2 separate regions of the Homo sapiens genome follow, and region 2 is linked to region 1. The links are contacts of gene promoters, found by promoter capture Hi-C in human tissues and cell types (Jung and others, 2019). All regions are on one chromosome and are shown on one strand. Each heading gives the region's core, a stretch centred on a gene start or on the middle of the fragment in contact. The rest is flanking DNA. Distances are from core to core; before and after follow the strand shown.

Evidence for each region. The method cuts DNA at HindIII sites, captures the fragments that hold promoters and counts their contacts. A contact is called where the count stands out against the background at its distance.
Region 2: a fragment that was not itself captured here is called in contact with the fragment with the promoter of BLACE in region 1 in 1 of the 25 tissues and cell types used here (H1 embryonic stem cells).

The regions. Positions count from the first base shown.
Region 1 is chr7:155,365,147-155,372,376 of GRCh38, reverse strand. BLACE (B cell acute lymphoblastic leukemia expressed) reads left to right here and starts at 4,444. Exons shown (of 6, transcript NR_103545.1): 1 at 4,444-4,568. LOC105375593 (a long non-coding RNA gene) reads right to left here. Exons shown (of 3, transcript XR_928236.4): 2 at 6,987-7,197; 3 at 1,346-2,575. RefSeq lists an enhancer at 1-489. The HindIII fragment of the contact is 9,929 bases long and covers 1-7,230 here.
Region 2 is chr7:155,536,283-155,543,512 of GRCh38, reverse strand. All of the region lies in intron 2 of CNPY1 (canopy FGF signaling regulator 1), which reads left to right. Among named protein-coding and RNA genes, the nearest start is that of CNPY1, 6.7 kb to the left of the region's middle. RefSeq lists an enhancer at 626-1,426. The HindIII fragment of the contact is 3,908 bases long and covers 2,026-5,933 here.

The DNA of each region.
Region 1 (7,230 bases), core at 3,195-5,694:
GGCGCTGTCCCAGGGTAGGAAGAAAGTGCGCGAGACGGCCCTGGTTGCATCCACGAAGCGCGCCCTACTTCTTTCCGGACACGCATTCTCCAGCACCCGGGGAGCTCCCCGCCGGCGCTCCTGCCCTAAACTCTCGGCCAAGCCCAAAGCCGGGCGTGCCTTCTCCCTAGAATGTTCTCGAGCAAATCCCGAACAAGTAGTCCGATTCCACCCCAGGCCTACACGGGTAATGCGGGTTAAGAAGGCAAGGGGCGAGAGGAGGTGGGAACAAGTCCAGGTGGGCGCCTAGGGGTGTCCAGGGCACCCTGCGTAACGCTGGCCGCGCGGTTCCGCTCGGCCTAACCTTTCTCGCCCTCCTGAACCTGCTCACGGCCGAGGCAGGTGGAGAGGGCGCCTTGCATCGGGAAGGCCGGGACGCAGACTTCCAGAAGCTCTGTGGGACCACGGGGCGGTTGCCTCACACGGGTGAGGTCTCGGCGCCTTTGTTGGCTCCCAGGAAACCGTGGGCAGGACGCCTGGATTGCCCCCATCTAGCTGTCCCAACCTGTGCTGCCTCTTTACCCCAGGGGAGAGGGGCACCCAGCCTGGACCCGTGCAGCGCGGTCCGCTCGCCTTGCAACAGGGAAAGAGGGGATGGAGCGGGTCACGAAGTTGTTTTCCTATTCTCCTGGCTGGATTCATCATTCTTGCACACCAAGCCAAAAAATGCAAAGGGAGTTTGTTCTTTCATTTTCCTCTGCCAATAACCGCCGATCAGACTGTTTCATTCCACTCCCCGCCCCACCTGCCCTGCGTTCCCAGGTACGGAAAGGACGAGAGGCCTTTGTTCGATCGACTGACAAGAAGGGACTGCTTGCCCAGCCAGGGTCCTCGCAGGTGGGATGGGGCTTCCTGCAGGCCTCTGCAGGTTTGCGGGCTGCTGAGCTAAACCCCTTGCAGAGGGGCCAGGGCCGTCCTTGGGTTGTGATGGTGTCCGATTGGACTCTTAAATGGTTCCTTTGAACCTTGAACCAGAATTCTTGCAGAATCCTGCAAACATACCCAGCCCTTGCAAAACAGGGCTTTAGGGTAGGAGTCGAGGGGTCTGGGGGTGGCCGTCTGAATACAGCATGAGTGGATTCCTAGCCATCACTTGGTGGGGAGCACAGTGTCTGGGGACAGGTGGAACTAGTAGCCACCCCTGTAACAATGACTAACTTTCAGGTGGGGCGCACAGTGTCTGGGGACAGGTGGAACTAGTAGCCACCCCTGTAACAATGACTAACTTTCAGGTGGGGCACACAGTGTCTGGGGACAGGTGGAACTAGTAGCCACCCCTGTAACAATGACTAACTTTCACGAGTGATTCCGGCAGGCCAAGTGTCTTTTCAGCATGTTTTGTGGGTGATTTTATTTTTATTTATTTATTATTATTATTTTTTGAGACAGAGTTTTGCTCTCGTTGCCCAGGCCGGAGTGCAATGGTGCTATCTTGGCTTACCACAACCTCCACCTTCCGGGTTCAAGCGATTCCCCTGCCTCAGCTTCCCAAGTAGCTGGGATTACAGGCATGAGCTACCATACCCAGCTAAATTTGTATTTTTAGTAGAGACGGGGTTTCTCCATGTTGGTCAGGCTGGTATTGAACTCCTGACCTCAGGTGATCCACCTGCCTCAGCCTCCCAAAGTGATGGGATTACAGGCATGAGCCATCGCGCCCGACCTGTTTTATTTATTTACTTTTTGAGATAGTCTCATTCTGTCTTCTAGGCCAGAGTGCAGTGACGCACTCATGGCTCTCTGCAGCCTCGACCTCCTGGGCTCAAGCAATCCTCCCACCTCAGCCTCCCGAGTAGGTAGGACTACAGGTGCACACCACCAATTGTTTAATTTTTGTAGAGACAGAGTCTCACTATGTTGCCCAGGCTGGTCTTGAACTCTTGACCTCAAAAGATCCTCCCTCCTCAGCCTCCCAGAGCATTGGGATGACAATCATGAGCCATCACAGCTGGCCTGTGGGTGATTTTATTTATTCCTCGAGATAGGTACATTTATTATCTCCATTTACATCTGAGGAAACTGAGGCACAAAGGGGCAAAATAACATTTCCAAGCCTGCTGACTGGTAAGTGGCCAGCATTTGACTGAGGAGGTCTGTCTCTAGAAACCCTGCCCCTGCTGCCCCTTCTGTGTCTGAGTGTGGCAGTCAGACCCCAGAGGGAATCCCACACCTGTAAAATAAAAACAATCAGCTGGCCCTGCTGACCTCGCTGGGGAGCGAAGCCCAGCCTAAAAAGGGATGAGTACCCTGAAAAGGTTCTGCTTGGGTGTGGCCGTGCAGGAAACGCTCCTGCTTTCTTGCCTGCCTGTCATCGATGACCCGAATAATCTCTGCACCAGATCTGTGTTTGTCTCTTCCCTGCTGTAGGTCGCTGTGGCCTTGCCCCTCAGAACAACAGAGCAATGGGCTGCGGCCAGGCAGCGCTCTGCGCTTTGATGAATTTTAAAGCGTTGGAGTGATCACAGGATGTCCGTCCGAGTTTCACAGTTAGCGAGCTGCTGAGCTGAGCCGAGCTGAGGGTTGGCAGGGTAGAGTCCTATGGGAGAAACACTGCTTGGATCACAGAGATTTCTGTGTATCAGGAACCAACAAATACTAAGTAAGCACTTGCTGTGGCTAAATGCTTACCACATCGGCTGAGTAGGGGGTGTGCAGATGGGGGAGTCCCACAGCCCCCAAAACCAGCTACAACATCCACGTTTTACTCAGACAAGGGGCCCTCAAGCACCACCTCATGCCGAAGTGCTGCTTCACGTGAATAGAGCTAGGATTCTAAGCCAAAAGGCCTTTCTAGAACTTTCTGCATGTACCAAAGAAGCTGCTTCCACCTCACTGCCTCCTTTCCACTGTTAGTGTTCTGCTGAGGCTTCTCTTGGGCTCTGCCTCTCCCTGCCCAACACCTGAGAAAGGCCTGATCAGTGCTGGAGGCACTGGGTGGCACCTCTCCTGCGGACGTGCTTCCCACGTAAGGCAGGTATAGGGAGACCTGCCTGTCTAGAAAGACATATGTTTACATGTCAGAGAGAAACACAACACCTGCACTCTCTAACCATTTCCTGAAAGACCCCTCTTGACACACCTTAGGGGCTTCAGGGCCACACTGCCTGGCACAGCTGGTTCCCAGTGTGGACCTGTCTCCACTGCCAGCCCCTGCCCCACCCTCTCCACCTGAGTCCTGATCCCTGGTGACCAAGAGAGGCTGTGCTGCTTCTGGCCTTCACAGTAAGCCAGATGGCCTGGGAAGCGAGACTCTCTCTGCCTCCCAGCACTCCAGGCTGCAGTTGCTGTTTCATCATCCATGGGTGTAAAACACCAAGCAAGTGACATGATACAGAATGACCTCCCTGTGCTGGCAGTGGCACCACAGAAACAGGAAGACTCAGAGCCAGAAGCTGCCTGCGCAGATTGCCATTATGGAGCCTGGGAAATCAAGTCCTAGAAAGATTATCTGTTTTTTTTTTTTTTTTTGAGATAGGAGCTTGCTCTGTCGCCCAGGCTGGAGTGCAGTGGTGTGATCACTGCTCACTGCAGCCTCTGCCTTCTGGGCTCAAGCAATCCTCTAGCTTCATCCTCCCAAGTAGCTGGGACTACAGGCATGCGCCGCCATGCTTGGCTAATTTTTTAAACTTCTTGTAGAGACAAGGTCTCACTATGTTGCCCTGGTTGGTCTTGAACTCCTTGGCTCCAGTGATCCGCCTGCCTCCAGTGATCCTCCCACCTCGGCCTCCCAAAGTGCTGGGATTACAGGCATGAGCCACTGTACCTGTCCTAGAAAGATTAAAGGATACCTCTACGTCTACCTCTACCTCTACCTCTACCTCTACCTCTACCTCTACCTCTACCTCTAACCTCTAACCTCTAACCTCTAACCTCTACCTCTACCTCTACCTCTACCTCTCCCCACGGTCTCCTTCCACGGTCTCCCTCTGATGCCGAGCCGAAGCTGGACTGTACTGCTGCGATCTCGGCTCACTGCAACCTCCCTGCCTGATTCTCCTGCCTCAGCCTGCCGAGTGCCTGTGATTGCAGGCACGCGCCGCCACGCCTGACTGGTTTTCGTTTTTTTTTGGTGGAGACGGGGTTTCGCTGTGTTGGCCGGGCTGGTCTCCAGCTCCTAACCGCGAGTGATCCGCCAGCCTCGGCCTTCCGAGGTGCTGGGATTGCAGACGGAGTCTCGTTCACTCAGTGCTCAATGGTGCCCAGGCTGGAGTGCAGCGGCGTGATCTCGGCTCACTACAACCTACACCTCCCAGCCGCCTGCCTTGGCCTCCCAAAGAGCCGAGATTGCAGCCTCTGCCCGGCCGCCACCCCGTCTGGAAAGTGAGGAGCGTCTCTGCCTGGCCGCCCATCGTCTGAGAGGTGGGGAGCACCTCTGCCTGGCAACCACCCCGTCTGAGAAGTGAGGAGCCCCTCCGTCCAGCAGCCACCCCGTCTGGGAAGTGAGGAGCGTCTCCGCCCGGCAGCCACCCCGTCCGGGGGGGAGGTGGGGGGGGTCAGCCCCCCGCCCGGCCAGCCGCCCCGTCCGGGAGGTGAGGGGCTCCTCTGCCCGGCCGCCCCTACTGGGAAGTGAGGAGCCCCTCTGCCCGGCCAGTCGCCCCGTCCAGGAGGGAGGTGGGGGGGTCAGCCCCCCGCCCGGCCAGCCACCCAGTCCGGGAGGGGGGAGGGGGGTCAGCCCCCTGCCCGGCCAGCCGCCCCGTCCGGGAGGGAGGTGGGGGGATCAGCCCCCCGCCTGGCCAGCCGCCCCGTCCGGGAGGTGAGGGGCGCCTCTACCCGGCCGCCCCTACTGGGAAGTGAGGACTCCTCTGCCCGGCCAGCCGCCCCGTCCGGGAGGGAGGTGGGGGGTCAGCCCCCCGCCCGGCCAGCCGCCCCGTCCGGGAGGGAGGTGGGGGGATCAGCCCCCCGCCTGGCCAGCCGCCCCGTCCGGGAGGTGAGGGGCGCCTCTGCCCGGCTGCCCCTACTGGGAAGTGAGGAGCCCCTCTGCCCGGCCAGCCGCCTCGTCCGGGAGGGAGGTGGGGGGTCAGCCCCCCGCCCGGCCAGCCGCCCCGTCCGGGAGGGAGGTGGGGGGATCAGCCCCCCGCCCGGCCAGCCACCCCGTCCGGGAGGTGAGGGGCGCCTCTGCCCGGCCGCCCCTACTGGGAAGTGAGGAGCCCCTCTGCCCGGCCAGCCGCCCCGTCCGGGAGGGAGGTGGGGGGTCAGCCCCCCGCCCGGCCAGCCGCCCCGTCCGGGAGGGAGGTGGGGGGATCAGCCCCCCGCCCGGCCAGCCGCCCCGTCCGGGAGGTGAGGGGCGCCTCTGCCCGGCCGCCCCTACTGGGAAGTGAGGAGCCCCTCTGCCCGGCCAGCCGCCCCGTCCGGGAGGGAGGTGGGGGGGTCAGCCCCCCGCCCGGCCAGCCGCCCCGTCCGGGAGGTGAGGGGCGCCTCTGCCCGGCCGCCCCTACTGGGAAGTGAGGAGCCCCTCTGCCCGGCCAGCCGCCCCGTCCGGGAGGGAGGTGGGGGGGTCAGCCCCCCGCCCGGCCAGCCGCCCCGTCCGGGAGGTGAGGGGCGCCTCTGCCCGGCCGCCCCTACTGGGAAGTGAGGAGCCCCTCTGCCCGGCCAGCCGCCCCGTCCGGGAGGGAGGTGGCGGGGGTCAGCCCCCCGCCCGGCCAGCCGCCCCGTCCGGGAGGTGAGGGGCGCTTCTGCCCGGCCGCCCCTACTGGGAAGTGAGGAGCCCCTCTGCCCGGCCACGACCCCGTCTGGGAGGTGTGCCCAGCGGCTCATTGGGGATGGGCCATGATGACAATGGCGGCTTTGTGGAATAGAAAGGCGGGAAGGGTGGGGAAAAAATTGAGAAATCGGATGGTTGCCGGGTCTGTGTGGATAGAAGTAGACATGGGAGACTTTTCATTTTGTTCTGTACTAAGAAAAATTCTTCTGCCTTGGGATCCTGTTGATCTATGACCTTACCCCCAACCCCATGCTCTCTGAAACATGTGCTGTGTCCACTCAGGGTTAAATGGATTAAGGGCGGTGCAAGATGTGCTTTGTTAAACAGATGCTTGAAGGCAGCATGCTCGTTAAGAGTCATCACCACTCCCTAATCTTAAGTACCCAGGGACACAAACACTGCGGAAGGCCACAGGGTCCTCTGCCTAGGAAAACCAGAGACCTTTGTTCACTTGTTTATCTGCTGACCTTCCCTCCACTATTGTCCTATGACCCTGCCAAATCCCCTTCTGCAAGAAACACCCAAGAATGATCAATAAAAAAAAAAAAAAAAAAAAAAAGAAGAGTTCCAAAAAATTTAACAGCATTTCCAGCAATGATTATTTCTGAAATAAAAAGATATGAAACATAATTTATACAAAACTAAAAAAAAAAAAAAAAAAAAAAAAAAGGATTAAAGGATCAACCATCAGGTCCCTAACCACAGACCCAAAGACGGAAGCCTTGGCAGGTAATAGTAGTAGTAATAATAATAACAATAACCCACAGCATCGCCAGGCATCATGCAGCTCTGTGAGTGCAGCCCCATAGCAAGCCCCAAAGGTAGATGCTCTTCTTCTTCTCATCTTACAGAGGCACCCAGGGGCTTGGTGACTTCCCCAAGGCCACACAGCCTGCTAACTGTGCTAAGTGGTGACCCGTTCCCTTGAATGGTAACCACGCCATCTGGCTCAAAACTACTGGCCAGCACTGCCTCTCACAGAGACTCCTGTCCCATCCAATGTGGATAAATAAGCATAGATAAGAGAGAGGCGGAAGGAAGGCCCAGCCACCCACCCAGCTGCAGAGTCCCTGCCTTTAATCCTCAGAACCTGCCTGTCCCTGAGGGCAGATGTAATGAAAGAAGGTTTGAATCTTCTAGTTTTATCTGAAAGGACACAGCTGGCCCTGAATGCCGTTCACCCAATAACCCACACGGGAGAGACTCCAGATGTTGTCTTAATGCCCGAGCCTCAGCTCCCACTTACCCTCTTTCCTGGGCTTTGATCGCATGAGTCTTAATCCCCGCTGGTGACCTGGCCTCCATCCACCTGTTTCCGTCCACTATCTGGGAAGGCAGCAATGCCAACCTCTTCGGAATTCTTTGGCCTAAACACCTGTTCCCATCAACGATTCCTGTTCCTGAAACCTCCTGCCTTCCCAAGGGATGGCACCAACACAGCTGGAGTGAGGCTGTCACTGCTCCCTCCAGCAAATGTCCCCAAATCATCA
Region 2 (7,230 bases), core at 2,730-5,229, 170 kb before region 1:
CCTTGCTGTGATTCACATTCCTGTGGCATTGTTTTCTTCCGTCAGCAGGCTACTTGGCCAAATTCGGAAGTAGGGGATCTGGCAGTGTGAAGTCAGCTCTGCCCTTGCTCTGCTTGGACTTGGATGGGGGCCAGGCTGGTGTTACTGCGGGGGCTACTCTCCTCCTTCCACCCAGCAGCTCACAGAGCACGTGCTCAGCTTGGCCTTCAGTGAAGAACAAAAGAAGGCACACAGCTGCCAAATGAGAGGGGTCTCGGGCCCCCATTGTCCTGCCTGGAGGAGTCTTGAAGCCAGAGGTGTTCCCAGCCCGGCCCGGCTGGCCACAGAGCGGCAGGACCCCTTGCCTGCTTTTTTCTCCTTTCTGGACCTCAGTCAGGCTGGAAAGAAACACAGGCCGTGTCTTCAGAGCTGAGGGTGCTGATGCCACAGGGTCCTTGGAGAGGCTGTTCCTCTGTGGGAGGGGTGAGGCGGGTTCCCCCGAGAATCCGAGTTCCTAAGGGGAGCCACGGGAAGAAGCAAAGCGAGTGAGTGGCCTCTCGGCACTGTGCGGACCCAGTGTGTGCAAAGCGGCCTGTGTCCATACCGGGCTATTCTCTCCGTCTAGCCTCGGGCGGGGGTGGGTCTGGGAGGGCAGTGTGGACAGGGGAGATGTGCAAACCAGCTTCTCTCAGGCCAGGCCTCCCTTGCTTAGAAGAAGAGTCAAAGGAGGCCCCCAGAGAGCAGCCAGTGAAAGGGCTGTGGCCGCAGGCGGGCCTCTGCCCGCACTGGCTCAGTCCCTGGTGTGGATGTGGGGCTGGGACAGACACAGAGGAGGGCCAGGTGCCCACGACAGCCTGCATGTCCTCTCAGCAGCGGGAGGGTCTTGGGGTCCGGCTGCACCACAGGAGCCCCGGGATATGTGGGGACCCCGCTTTTTTTTCTACTCTGCATACTTTGCCACTAGCAGCATTGTGGCTCAGACAGAAATCCCCCAGCCCCAGGGGTGTGCAGTGGCTCTTTCCACGTGAGGCCCAGCAGTGAGGCCCCAGCATCAGTCAGGAAGCTTGGGTGAGCCCCGAAGGGCAAGCAGAGGTCTCCATGAAGAGCCTTTCCATGCCCACACCCAGGACCTTCCTTCCTTGGCTCCCTACGCCCGCCCATGAGCAAGGGGTGCTCTGACCATGGTTGGGGGGTCACTCCTTGGAGCCTGGTGACTCCCAGACCCGTAGGTCCGGGGAGCAGCTGGCAGGACCAAGCAGGACTTGCTTTCCCTGGGGCTCCCCTGACTCCCCTGCCCAGCTCCGCCTTCCCTGCCTGCCTGACTCCCCTGCCCAGCTCCGCCTTCCCTGCCTGACAGCACTCAGCCTGGCAGGGAGGGAATCAGCTCTCAGGCCCTACAGCAGGGGTTGTGAATACTCCACATCGAGCGTCCCACTGCACGTGTTCTGCACCGGCTTCTAGGATTTTCCCAGCAGACTTCTGCCCCCCCGACCCTGCCCCTGTCATGGCAGCCGGCTTGCAAACACAGCGTTCATTGGCTGCCTTCCAGTAGAACTTCCCCTCCACTCTAGTGTTTCCAGAACCTTCCAGGTAAACAGCCCTGGGAGAATCCCAGCAAAGACAGTACTAAAAGGCCCCTTCAAGCAAAGCATCCCCTCTATAGGGCTGCCGTGGTTTCTGAGTACCAGGGCTGCTTACCCACCTTTGAGTGATGGTTATAGAGGCTGGTGCGAGGCTGGAAGACTTCCCTTCCTGGGAAGGACCTCAGGGTGTGTGGCTCCATCCACACTGTCCTCCTGGCCAGCCAGGCAGCAAGACCCTCGAGGAAGGGTGCTCCAGCTTCCCTTGAGTTAGAGCAAGACCCATGGACAGTCGCCCCACACTCAGCAGACTGCGGGGGCTCTGGGGAGCCTCCAAGCCAGGCCCGGTTGGCCTCCCTCCTCATCATCTGAGGCTGACCTGCCAAGCAGGCTAGAAGGGAGGAAGGTGTGGGTCATGTGGTGTGGGGAATGATTAGAAAATAAGGCTCATTATTGTAATCAACATCATTCTCAAGCTAGCTCAGAAGTCTTCAATGTTATCAACTTTATGGGACAGCCTGTAGAAGCAGAGAGGATGGAAGGGGCAGCTGTTTAGTAATACACGATGTACAGGGACCTCAGCTCCCGGGGACTGACTGCCTTGCTCTGTTGGAAACATTCTCCCTAGCCAAGGATTTTAGTGCCATTCTCCTTGAGAAATGAAATTCACGTGCCACGTCTTGCTCGATGTTCATGATAGGCTGGGAGCTCGTGCTCCGCTCGCGGAGGTCTCTGTCTTCAGAACAGCGGGAACGGGGAGGCTCAGCGGGGGAGCACTCACTAAAGTCCAGAGTTCAGAGAGCTGCCTCCTTGGCCTGGGGCTGTTGGGGACAGGTGGGAGACCACCCCTGCTGCCACCGTAGGTGGGATGTCTTCACTCGGTAGCTCCTCACACTGGCACAAAGCCTCGTCTGTTCAGCAAAATGCAGCCAGCATCTCAGCACTGCGGTTATTTCCCTATTATTTATTTATTTTTTAAACAAATTGGATTAATGGCACCTTTCCTAAAACAGGGCAACACAGCACAAGACAATTTGGAGGCAGTTACTTCACATTTGCTTACCTGTCTCCTCTCCCAGTGATGAAAGGCTGGCCTCCCGAATGAGGGTACGCATGCACTGCTGCTCTCAGCGGGGCACCCAGGGTCAGGGAGCTGGAGTCGAGGGGCTCACATTTGCTTTTAGATTTTGAACCTCCGAGCTCCAGTCACTGGATACAGGATGACCAGGGCAAGCCGTGTGTTACCCACAGGGACCCAGGAAACGTGTGTTCACCGAGGGAATTGTAAATGATGAAGCAGAGCTCAGGGGCGTCCTCTGCCTCGGCTGAGTGTGAGAGCAAGGCCTCGCTCTCTGCGAAACTTGGAAAGTTCAAACAGAAAGCACCAACAGCAACAGTGAGGACGAGGCCAATATCCGGTTTGCACCAACACCTCATGCTTCTTTAAGCTTTAAAACACAACTCTGGGAGGTAAACTGGGCCACTGTAATTAGCTTCATTTTAGAAATGCAGATGAGGCCCAGAAAGCTTTAGTGACTCACTTAATTTTGACAAATTAGTATTAATTTAATTTGCTGATAAGTTAATTTAGAAAAATTCCAATACCATTTGCTAGCGCTAAGATGAGGAGAACGAGACCCCAGTGCACGGTGCTTTGGCAAAGCCGAGCACTTGAATTAAAGGACATTGGAAGTCCTTCGAAGCTGTCTCAGAATTCTGGACTTTCTAACCTTGTTTCCTCCTCCAGCCCCCAAGTGCAGAGAGCCTCTCCCTGGAATTTCCTTATCCGACTTAGGAAACTTCTTTCCAAAAGAAATACAATTGTCTTAAGATCTCTTCCCGAGGAATCTGATCAAATAACCAGGAAAGATTTAGCCACCAGAGGAGAGAAAAGCCTAAAGGTCACCCCCACCCCCAGACTTTTCATCTGTTCTTCTGAGGGCAGCTCAAAGTGATGACCCTGGAGGCTTTGTCACATAAGAAGAAAATCTGTGTTCACGGTGCAGTTCTACCCCTCACCTTCCCATAACTTGCTGGTCCTATTCAGTTTCCTAAGAGAATCGTTGACAAGATAATGTCTGCCTCCTGCGTCCATTCCTTTCTCCTAAGAATCACTGACTCTCCCCTAAAATGGCCCACGGGCCCCCACTTCCCTCTCCTCCATGAAAAGGGTATTTAAGTCTCAACCATCTTGCCCTTGTTGGAGTCTCATATTTCATATGGCTCCCATGCTAACACACATGAATGTTTGTCTGCTTTTTTCCCCCCGTTAATCTGTTTTTCAGTCATTTCAGCAAGCCTTCACAGGGAGCAGAAGGGAAGCTTTCCCTCTGCTCCCACACTATTGACAGAGCTACCCCATCCCATTATGTACTATGAAACAACAGGGCACTATAACATCCTGGAGCTGTGCAGTGTGCAACCTGCACAACTGTACATGGACAAAATGAGAGGGCTGGCTATTCTATCAGGCCAGCCAGGAGGTGCAGGGGGATTCAGTCCATCAGCAATTTTCCTACTCGCTAGAGGGCCATGAAATCCGTGTAGTGGCATACAAGAATGTAGAAATATATATTAAATATCAGAGTACATCTTATAGAAAAGGAAAGTATGTTTTGTGACACTTTATATAATGGGTTTTGGTGTAAGAAGTGGGTCATGTCCAAAAAATTGGAAGCCACTATAGCAGATGGCTGTCCTCAGCATGATACGGTAGCCTAAAGATATTTGATTTAGGAAGATTATTAATACCCAAACAATGCCACAACAATTCCTGACTCCTTCTGCAGAAAGAAAATCAGAACATCTCCTCTGAATCCTCATATTACAGCAGTGACAGCTTTGGCTTAGCGGCCTACGCTTTCTATGGACCAAGGGACCGCAGCTGGGCAGGGTGGGGTGGGGAGCGACAAAGAAAGGGGCCCGAAGCTGGCTCCTGGCCCCTGGTGGCAGCAGCCTTGGGGCTCAGATTCCTGCTGATGTGCCCTGGCACTGGTCTCCTTTGGATCAGCATTCCGGGTCTACATGTGGTGTGGACTAGGGGAGGAATTCTTCCCCCATAGGAGCTCACACTCTGACCCAGAGACCTCAGCAGCCGCCAGTGTGAACGCCACGTCTCAGAGAGTGAAGGGTGAGTTGAGTGGGGTGGGCAGGAGGTGAATAGGAGGGGGCGCGAGTCAGCCCATGGCGGTGCTCAGAGCAGAAAAGTGAACAGCTTTGCATGGGGTCTCTTTTTTAACAAGGAGGACATTTGTCCAGGATCTCCCACCCCCAGCCCCCAGAACTCCCCCTCATATCTCATGGGTCAGGAGGGCCTCTAACGCCTGTGGCTAGACCAACTGCGGGGCAAGTGGGGCATTCGCAGACGTCCCTCAGATCAATCCAGACCCAAGCTCAGGGCCTTGTGGGGGCGTGGCCTGTCCTGGGCACGTGAGGAGGGGCAGAGTCTGGGGTTAGCAGGAGGGGGGTGGGAGGGCTCTTTGGTGGATGGTCCCCAGATCTGCCACAGTTCAGGGTCACACGCGGGTGAAGGCGGAGAGCCCAGGAGACAGTGAGACCAGCCTGCAGGGTCCCCAGTGTCTGAAAATGAGGTTGGTGGCAACAGTCCCTAGTACTTACTTGCATTTTCTTGCAAGCACAAGAGGAAGGGATGGTGTGCAGATGGACTGCAGGGCTGGAGGCCACACTTAGCAACCAGGAGTTTCAGGGATCACCCCTAAATTGTTTTGCAAGGGCTGTTGGCCCATGGATGCCACCTTAATAAGAAAATTACTTCAGCAACAATTGAGAAAGATGATGGTGCAAGAAAATGATGTTCACAGGAACCTGTAAATTGCCATGTGAAAAAATCCGAAGGGTATTTTCCTATTATTAAGTGCAAAAAAGAGGTTATTAACCCGCACATACAGATGCCCTCTTACGTGTCTGTGTCTGTTCACTGCAGGAGGGAGCCTCAGGAAATACACTGAGACAATAGTCACAGTTCTTGTATCTGCGTATTACTGCTGAGCTCCTTTCTTTCTTTTTTTGTTTATCTGTTAAAATTTTTTCTATAATAAACATATTACTTGTTAAATTTAAAACATAAAGTTTTGAAGGTTTTTTTTTAGAAATCAAAAGAATTCCATGATAATGTAGAAATTCCTATTCTAAAAAGTAGCATTGTTCTTAAGAAGATGGAACACTATACACAGACACGTGATTTTGTTTCGTATAAAATATTCAACAGAGGCTGGACGCAGTGACTCATGCTTGTAATCCCGGCACTTTGGGAGGCCAAGACGGGTGGATCACCTGAGGTCAGGAGTTTGAGACCAGCCTGGGCAACACGGTGAAACCCCATCTCTACTAAAAATACAAAAAATTAGCGGGGTGTGATGGCACATTCCTGTAGCCCCAGCTACTCAGGAGGCTGAGGCAGGAGAATCACTTGAATCCAGGAGGCGGAGGTTGCAGTGAGCTGAGATCGCACCATTGCACCCCAGCCTGGACGACAAAAGCGAAACTCCGTCTCAAAAAAAAAAAAAAAAGAAAAGAAAAAAAATTCCACAGAAAGCTGTGATGTGGCCCTTCCTTGAATTGTCCAGCTTCATTCCTGGTGGTGTCACTGGCCCTGGAGCAGCCTCAGGAACCGATGCAATCCTCTATTTTTGCTCCATGCATGTGTCCTTTGGTGCTTTAAGAGTCCTCGGAAGGAGAGGCTGGAAGGGAGGTAGCTTCCCCCTTTATCTCTGCTGCTACTCTCTCTTCTTTCCATAACTCTCATTGGCCAAGGACCTGCTCTTCTGAGACACGTGGGTCTCATCTCTCAACCATCTAGAGGACATGAGAAGATGTTAGCATGCGGAGTAATAAATAGCCCCGGCTCCTTTACTTACAGTCCTCATGTTCCTTTCCTCTCAAAGAAGAGCAAGAAGCATCAACAGATGGATGCTCTGGTCCTTACATCCCTAGGACTGGGGGTTGTATACATTTTTAATTTATTTGGTGGCTTTTATTGTGTACCATCTTCTATTTTATTTCTCTTTTATCTTATTTAAAAAGAGAAACACCATCACTCATTTTTATTTAAATTGCTGGCATGATTCTTTACTGATGGTGTTTGTCAGAATAGTTTAAGTATCATACACTGCCTGGTGTCAGTGTGGATCACCACGAGCGTTGAGAGTTGACTTCTTGCTCATGTCGTAGTCTAGTGTGGGTTGGCACGGGGCTCTGCTCCACTTGGTCATTCAGGGACCCAGGCCCTTCTGTCTTGTGGCTCCTCCTCCTCCAAGCCCGAGTCCTGTTCATCCAGCAGGTGGATGGGGAGAGAGAGCATGGAGGATTCTGTGGGAAATGTTTACAGGCAGGGCTAACAGGGAGGGGCCTTGCTTCTGCCTACGTTCCACGGCTGGGACTCCAGCACATGTCCTCACCTAGTTGGAAGAAGGGCTGGAAACAGTCGAGCTGTGTGTCCAGGAGGAGGAAGAAGTGGAGTGTGGTGACCATATAGCAGGTCACTGGTCACTGGAGAGAAGCCTGGTAGCATGGGACAAAGAAAGGCACCTCAGTATGGCCCTGGATGCATTTGGTGACCTGAGAAGTTTCCTGAAACCTATGACTATAGGTCTCAAGCACAGAGCGGCCCGTAGGCTTTCTAACCTCCCAGTACTGCAGAAATAACCAGCCC